Regions from separate parts of the Homo sapiens genome. Here all the other regions are linked to region 2. The links are contacts of gene promoters, found by promoter capture Hi-C in human tissues and cell types (Jung and others, 2019). All regions are on one chromosome and are shown on one strand. The core of a region is centred on a gene start or on the middle of the fragment in contact, and the rest is flanking DNA. Distances in the headings are between cores, read along the strand shown. Region 1 has its middle 40 kb from the start of ZCCHC7. Region 2 holds the start of GRHPR (glyoxylate and hydroxypyruvate reductase). Region 3 holds the start of EXOSC3 (exosome component 3).

The links. Contacts are between HindIII fragments. The study calls those that stand out against the background at their distance.
Region 1: a contact is called between a fragment that was not itself captured here and the fragment with the promoter of GRHPR in region 2, in 2 of the 25 tissues and cell types used here (hippocampus and spleen).
Region 3: a fragment that was not itself captured here is called in contact with the fragment with the promoter of GRHPR in region 2 in 1 of the 25 tissues and cell types used here (lymphoblastoid cells).

Annotation. Positions count from the first base shown.
Region 1 is chr9:37,078,957-37,081,702 of GRCh38, reverse strand. It overlaps the pseudogene EBLN3P. Among named protein-coding and RNA genes, the nearest start is that of ZCCHC7, 40 kb to the left of the region's middle. RefSeq lists an enhancer at 1,623-2,102. The HindIII fragment of the contact is 4,726 bases long and covers 1-2,746 here.
Region 2 is chr9:37,421,421-37,424,120 of GRCh38, reverse strand. GRHPR (glyoxylate and hydroxypyruvate reductase) reads right to left here and starts at 1,425. Exons shown (of 9, transcript NM_012203.2): 1 at 1,288-1,425. The coding sequence starts at 1,370. RefSeq lists enhancers at 828-1,453, 1,454-2,079 and a silencer at 1,464-1,613. The HindIII fragment of the contact is 13,627 bases long and covers 1-2,700 here.
Region 3 is chr9:37,784,057-37,786,756 of GRCh38, reverse strand. EXOSC3 (exosome component 3) reads left to right here and starts at 1,693. Exons shown (of 4, transcript NM_016042.4): 1 at 1,693-2,036; 2 at 2,694-2,700. The coding sequence starts at 1,713. RefSeq lists enhancers at 1,801-1,940, 1,438-1,953, 1,951-2,010. The HindIII fragment of the contact is 4,959 bases long and covers 1-2,700 here.

The DNA.
Region 1 (2,746 bases), core at 110-2,609, 340 kb after region 2:
TTTGTATATTTAGTAGAGACGGGGTTTCTCCATTTTGGTCAGGATGGTCTCGAACTCCTGACCTCAGGTGATCCGCCCGCCTCGGCCTCCCAAAGTGCTGAGATTTACAGGCGTCAGCCACCGCGCCCGGTCTTTAATCAATCTTTCTGGTCTCACAGCCTACCTACTGGTCATTCTGACCTTTTGCTCTTATTTACTTCCAAAGCACCTTTAGCCTCCCTAGATGTTCCTTCTTGACGACATAGGAATCTATCTCGGGCCGATTTAAATCAAATCCACAGCCTCATTTTCAGTCCAAATTTCACTGCAATATGCTGAACACACTTTACTTTCAACGTAAAATTTCTTTCTTACTATTAATGAGCTATCCTGATAGTGACAGGTGAAACACAATTGACTAAGGGGTTAAAATGTCCATTTTTCAAATGCCACGGCCACTCTGAATCAAATCTGAGATTGGAGTGGAGAAACCAAATGTGTAAAACAAAGGTCACAAAACAGAGGCAGAGCACAGTATTTCAGTGGGGGAAAAAAAATAAGCTAAATTTAGTCACATAAGTCCCAGCTCTTCTTGGGATATATATATGATTTTTATGAGAACTAATCCTATCCGGAAACATTTCCTTCACCTTTCCCTTAGCCCTTTTCCTTCGGTCATGCAGTCTCTTACCGTGCTAATTATCATATTAATATAATCCTCACTTGCGATCCTTCCTGACTTTATTCCCCATCCTCAGATTCTCTTGAAAGCATAATGCCTTCCTAAGTATACACACAATCCATTTAAAAGTCTTTGTATGCGACAGCCTAACTATTCAAACACGAAGTCATTTCTCTAACGGTCCTAGAAAAAATTTTTTAAAAGAAAAAGAAAACCACAAAGTCAAGAGCTTCTGAGGGGACCTGAAAAGTCATCAAATTGAACGCTCTCGTTTTATAGTTGGAGAAACTTATTCACTGAGCTAAAAGGGCCCTACTAATGGAGCCCCTAATTCAACTGTGTAATCTGATATAATCTTAAATTCAGCCTCAATAAGAGCTTTCTGGAATCGCCAGCGAGTCCGTGGGGGAGCCACGGCTAGAACCCAGGCCTCCTGATTCCCAGCCACAGCTTTTCCACCGAACCGGCAGCTCTTCCCAAAAGTTGAAGGCAACTGTCCGCTCACCGTCCAAGACTACTCGTTTTACATGAGGAAAGGGTCACAGCTCCCGAAATTTTGGATTCCACGGCGGCAGCTGCTGCTTCTGACAGCAGAGGCGGGAGGTGGCCCAGGACTACTCGGTCCTCAAAGACTGGACTCTCTCTCGGCGCGCCCGGACCTCCGCGCTTCACTGACTGGCTTCCCTAGAAGACTGGGGGCCTTGCGGGGAGATAAAAAGGGCAGACACGCCACCCCCACCGAGGCCCTGGACGCCCAGCCGCCCTAGAATCACGACCTTAGCCCTTGGAAAGCCAGGGAGATGCGGACCCCCTAGACCCGCAGCCCGGCCGCGTGGGGCGGCGCGCAGCTGAGGGACCAGGAGCTGCGCCCCACCACAAGTGAGGGGCGGACCGGAGACGCCGAGGTCGGCGAGGGGGCACGCGCTAGTTCCACAGCTCGGCTGGCGAGACGGAGGGTAGGCAGGGGTCCCAGGCCGCGGGTGACTCGGGGTCCGTCACATACATACTCACTGCCGTAGCTGCAAACAGAAAGCACCAAACAGGGACCAAAACGCGTAGAGGGACGGGGAGGGGCGAGGACAAATGAGGTAAGGAGGCCGCGTCCGCGCAGACCCGGGAGGAGAGAAGGCACTTCCGGGACAACACAGCCCTAGGCGTCGCCTTCTGTGTCCGCCCACCTGTCGCGCCTGGTATGCGCATGCGTACTAAGTGCGAACCTTTCTCTGCCCCGCCCATAATCTTTAGATTTGCCTTCCATGCTTTGCCCCTTCCCCTTCCCATCTTCTCTTGAAGTTACCTAGATTGCGTCTATTATTTGAATGACTCGTACAAAAGAGATGCTATTTATCGGGCAAAAGCCGGGAGTTCGTGCCCTCTACGCCCGCAAGGAAAACTACAACTCCCATGAGGACACGGGTGAGATTGAGGCCGGGCTCCGCCTCCTTCTCCCTGGAGCTTGGTGGACGCCTTCCCAGTGCCACGTGGCGGGGAGCTGATCTGATCGCGGGCGTGACGACGGCCCGCACGGCTAGCTGCTTGGCCCGCGGGCCTGGGCAGCCCTGGAGCGGGAAACGCCTCCGTGAGAACGCATGGCTTCAAGCTTCTCCCTTGCGCTCCTGATCTTAGGCTGATCGCTTTTACCTTTAGGTTGAAGTTGAACACAGTTCACACTGTGCTCTTCCTCCCCCTCTTTCTGGAATTCCAGGCAACAGATTTAACACTTTATGAATCTTGAAGAGCTGCACTCCTCCTAAATATTGCAGTTAATGCTGATCCTTTGGAAGCCTCCGAAGGCCACAAGGCTGTGATGGGAGCCTCTGGCTTCAGTTGCCTTTCTCACACCTTATTTTAATACTCAAGGTAAACCCTTCTGTACAACTTTAGAAATAACTGTCAACCTAAAGGAAAAACGGAGGCAAAGTTAATATAAATAGAGAATTTATTTGGGCCAAGTCTCAAGAATGCAAACTGGGAGCATCACTTCAAGTTACCCTTAATTTAATACATGATCTTAGCAGCAGTTTCAAGTGAGTTCTTTGTTTTGTTGGCCAGGAAGCTTGAACTCTTGTCTCAAAGGAATTGATC
Region 2 (2,700 bases), core at 176-2,675:
GGCAAAGGTTTTGTTGCAGTGAACAAAATTTGAAAATCTCATATGCCCCTAGAACTGGCTGCTGAGGCTGGATTGCATCCTCTTCCTATCTAACATTGGAAACACAAACCTGATCAAATGCAGTGATCAGACAGCAGTCAGACACTTCTGAGTACAAGCCCCAGCTCCTCCACCTGGGAGCTGCATGGCTTTGGGAAGAAACTTAACCCTAAGTCCAGCCTCCAGTTTTTAATCTGTGCAATGGGAATTATAATACTGACTTCACAGTGCTACCAGGATTAAAAGTTTATGTATATGAAGCACCTGGCAAGGTTGGCCCACAAAAAGGGTTCCATTTAGCAAGGGTGGGCCAGGTGCAGTGGTTCATGCCTGTAATCCCAGCACTTTGGGAGGCTGAGGTGGGAGGATCCCTTCGTACAGGAGTTCAGGACCAGCCTGGGCAACACAGTGAGACCCTCGTCTTTGAAAAAAATAAAAAATTAGCCAGGCATGGTAGTGCATGCCTGTAGTAGTCCCAGCTACTTGGGAGGCTGAGGTGGAAGTATCTCTTGAGTCCAGGAGGTTGAGGCTGCAGTGAGGTATAATGGTGCCACTGCACTCCAGCCTGGATGAGAGTGAGACCCTGTCTTAAAAATTAAAGGGTCCTCAGGCCAGTCATGGTGACTAACACCTGTAATCCCAACACTTTGGGAGGCTGAGGCAAGAGGATTGCTTGAGCCCAGGAATTTGAGACCAGCCTGAGCAACAGAGTGAGACCCCCATCTCTACAAAAAAAAAATCAGAAAATTAGCCGGTAGTGATTGTTTGCGCCTGTAGTCCCAGCTACTCGGGAGGCTCAGGTGGGAGAACTGATTGGGCCCAAGAAGTCGAGGCTGCAGTAAGCCACGATCGATCGAGCCACTGCACTCCAGCCTGTGCAGCAGAGTGAGACTGTCTCAAAAAAAAAAAAAAAAAGATAAGTAAATATAAAGAAGAAGAGTCATCAAAGCCCCCTGCCAAACGTCCAAGGGCCTGGTCAGTGACCGCCATGTCCCTGACCCCACATGTCCTGTGGGAGCGTGGAGAATTAGCCTGGACCTTGCCTCAGGGGCAATCTCCCCTCTCCAAAGCCGGAACTGCAGGTCCCAGCGTCGTCTTAAGAGGAGAACTGGGCCCCAGAGAACTTTCTCCGAGACTCCCCAAAACTCCAAGCCTGCCCCAGCCGGCCACAAGGCCCAAACGCCCCGCCCGGCTCTCCGGTCCCTGGGACCGCCCTGCTCCCTCCTCCACGGCGCGCGAGGCTCTTACTCTGCCGCCCGGGCGAGCGCGACCCTACCCTCGGCGGGTATCCTGCGGGTGACGAACACCTTCATGAGTCGCACCGGTCTCATCCGCAGTGCAGCCGCCGACCCGGACCTGGCAGTACAGAAGCTGGCCCGGGAATGTAGCTGGGCCGGGGCGGGGCCAGGCTGGAGTGGGCGGGAGAGACGTCGCGCGCGGCGTGCGCAGGGGGTGTGGCTTCGCGAGAGGGAGCGCCGGGTTGCGGCTGAGCGGTGACTGTGCGTGCTCGGGGAGTGACAGTAACAGTGACCCTACACAGTGTCCTTGTGTGTGTGTGGGGGGGTGCGCCTCGTGCCACTGGGGAATCAGGGCCCCGGGGGAGAGGGGGCAGTATCCCGTCCAAGGCCTCATGGGAGCCCTGCTTTTTCTACACGCTCAGGGTCCTGTTTCCACAGGCTCAGGCCTTAAGAGACTGAAAGCCCCCACTTTTTCTGTCTCTTGGGTTGGCCCAGGGTAGAAACCCAGGTTCCAGGCTGTGAGGAAGTCCAGGACACACAGAGAGGTCACGTGTAGGTGTTCAGGCCAACAGCACAGCCAGGGGCCCGGCTCACAGCCACCGTCAATGACCAGAGGTATGAGTGAGGAAGCCTTCGGGTGACTCCAGGCCAACTCCCACCTGACTACAGCTAAAACTGCAAGAAAGAGCCTTTAGGAGAATCACTGGCTGAGCCCAGTCAACCCCGGAACCATAAGAGATGATAATGCACTGACTGCTGTTGCTCTAAGCCGTTCAATTTTGGAGTAATTCTTTATGCAGCAATAAATAAGTGATACGCTATGTGTGCGAAAGCCAGAAGCCATAAGAGTACAACTAATTCTCCATTGAAAAATTAACCGTACCATCCTGAATGCATCTGATCTTGGAAACTAAGCCTGGTTAGGGCTTGTATGGGAGACTGCCTGGAAATACCAGGTGCCTGGAAATACCAGGCTTATGTTTATCTTAAAAAAAAAAAATTAACAAAATCATAAGACAACAAACCGGGAAAAATACCATATATTTGCAACTCATTTTATAGACAAGGGGTTGATTTACTTATTGCACAAATAGTTCCTAAGACAAAGATGCCCAGCTTATCTGAATAAGCAAAGGATATCAATGGACAGTTTATAGAAAAGAAAATGGCCTTTAAATGTATGGCTGGGCGCGGTGGCTCATGCCTGTAATCCCAGCACTTTCGGAGGCCGAGGCAGGCGGATCACTTGAGGTCAGAAGTTTGAGACCAGCCTGGCCAACATGGTGAAACTCTGTCTGTACTGAATATACAAACATTAGGTGGGCATGGTGGCACATGCCTGTAATTCCAGCTACTCAGGAGGCTGAGGCAGGAGAATTGCTCATGAGTCCAGGAGATGGAGGTTGCAGTGAGCCGAGATCCC
Region 3 (2,700 bases), core at 73-2,572, 360 kb before region 2:
CTTTTTTTATACCCAGGGGAAAATGGCTTGCCAAATTTGGAGGGTGTGTTAGAGATGATCTGTCTTAATCATCCTAAAAAATCTAAAAATTCGGCCGGGCTTGGTGGCTCATGCCTGTAATCCCAGTACTTTGGGAGGCCAAAGTGGGCCTATCGCTTGAGGTCAGGCGTTCAAGACCAGCCTGGCCAGCATGGTGAAACGCTGTCTCTACTAAAAATACAAAAATTAGCCAGGTGCGGTGGTGCACTCCTGTAATCCTAGCTACTCGGGAGCCTGAGGCAGGAGAATTGCTTGAACCTGGGAGGCGGAGGTTGCAGTGAGCCGAGATGGTGCCACTGTAGTCCAGCCTGGGCGACAGAGCGAGACTCCGTCTAAAAAAAAAAATCTAAAAATTACGTTGGAAGCAGGTGCCTCAAAGAGATGAGCAGTAGAAAGGGAGGGCCGCTAAAGGCAATCGGTCAGTCACGGCCTCCCAGACCCTAGGAATTCTACCACTGCTGGAGAATCTGATCAAGCACTAATTGAAGGTTCGAGTTGACAGAGAAAACGGTGATTTAAAATAGAACCCCCAAAGTCAGATAGATGATTGGAATCTCTTTGGGTTTGGAATTCAACTGCTTCTCACGTGCGCAACTAAGTGTGCTCCAGGGAAATTTGAGTTACTGATATTCCAGGCCATGTAGGGCTATCGGAAGCATGTGAAATATGTATATTTGCAGGGGGAAAAAGTCTAGGGAGAAATACACACCAAAGGAATACATTCGTTCATTCATCAGGTATTACCTATTTCATGCCACACCTTGGGCTCTAAAGAATCAGAACTACAGTGTAGCAAGGGAGAAAAACGGGCAAGATTAAAACATCGTTTATTTTCTTCTTTTATTTTTCTCTGTGTTTTCTAAATGTGACTAGATCTCTAACAACCAAGAAGGTTTTATTTATTTTGAAAAAAACTACTTTTCCTGTTAAAAGGTCAGCCACTCTTCTGAGGGCGGAGTCGGAAAGAAGGTCCCATGAACCCACCTAGCGTCCAATTTCCCTTTTTTTTTTTTTTTTGACAGGGTCTCACTCTGTCCTCCAGACTGGAGTGCAGTGGCACCATCTAGGCTCACTGTAACCTCCGCCTCCTAGGTTCAAGTGATTCTCCTGTCTCAGCCTTCCGAGTAGCTGGGATTACACGTGCGTGCCACCACGCCCGGCTAATTTTTGTATTTTTAGTAGAGACAGGGTTTCACCATGGTGGCCAGGCTGGTCTTGAACTCCTGACCTCAAATGATCCACCCGCCTCGGCCTCCCAAACTTCTGGGATTACAGGCGTGAGCCACCGCGCCCGGCCCCAGCGTCCAATTTTCAAAGCCCCTCTGCTCAGCTTCCAGAGATCCCAAGAAACTCTTAAGTGGAAGTATCTCGTATCCCCACGATGCGACCGGTCACAAAACACGCGACCCGAGACACTGGAAGTGGAGGCTTTTCGATGGACCAAGCTGCGCGGTTTTCATACCGACCCGCGGCCAGGCTGTCAGATAGGTGGCCGGCCACAATCACTGCCACCTTGGACAGGGACCCGTGAGCTGACGGCCATCAAGCTTCATAAACTGGTCCGAATCCAACGGACCGCTACTGCCGGAAACGGAAAGTCCTCAAGGGCGGGTGTTGGAAGCGGAGCGGAAGCGGAAGGCGGGTACCGGAAACGGTGTTTGGTGGAGCCCGCGATGGCCGAACCTGCGTCTGTCGCGGCTGAATCTCTCGCGGGCAGCAGGGCGCGCGCTGCACGCACAGTACTAGGTCAGGTGGTGCTCCCGGGTGAGGAGCTGCTCCTGCCGGAACAGGAGGACGCGGAAGGCCCTGGGGGTGCAGTGGAGCGACCGTTGAGCCTGAATGCTAGAGCGTGCTCGCGGGTGCGCGTTGTATGCGGTCCGGGCCTTCGGCGCTGTGGGGACCGCCTGCTGGTCACCAAGTGCGGCCGCCTCCGTCACAAGGAGCCCGGCAGTGGCAGCGGCGGCGGTGTTTACTGGGTGGACTCTCAGCAGAAGCGGGTGAGCTGGGACTCCGGAGGGGTGGTGCGGCAGTGAGAGTGGTAGCCCTGCTTTGAGAAGACCTCCCAAAAGAAGAGAGGGACCCTGAGGCCCTCTTTTGTTCAGGCAAACCTAGAGCCACCGTAGTCTTGTGCCCACTTCTGCATGTCCTTTAGAGGGACCGTGAACAATAGGAACATAGCCTGAGAAGGGCGACCAGGAGAGAAAAACGTTTGGAGACCGTGAGTCATGATTATAGTCTTCAAAACCCCACAGCAGGCCTGCCGTTTGGAGTCTCAGAGGGCAGGACTAGGCTCAATGAGTGGATGTCATAGGGAGTTAATTTCTCCTAGAACAGGTAAGAATTTCATATAGAAAAAATTGTCTATGGAATGGGCTTCCTTGGTTGTAAGGATTCCTTTGCCACTGGACTTATGCCACAAAGCTAGAGACTTACTGGTTGGGGTGCCTAAGAGATAATGGAGTTTGGACTCAATTAACAGACTACCAGAAGCTGCACACCCGGCACTTTATGAAGTGATTTTCTTTTACCGAAAGTGGCATTTGATCAGATTTCTCTTTAATGACAATAAAGTAACCACAAAGGACTTGCTGAAGGTATCTTCCAATGGTATCTTGTCATTTATGGCTGTTTTTTCATTCTGTTTCTTTTTGTAGTATGTTC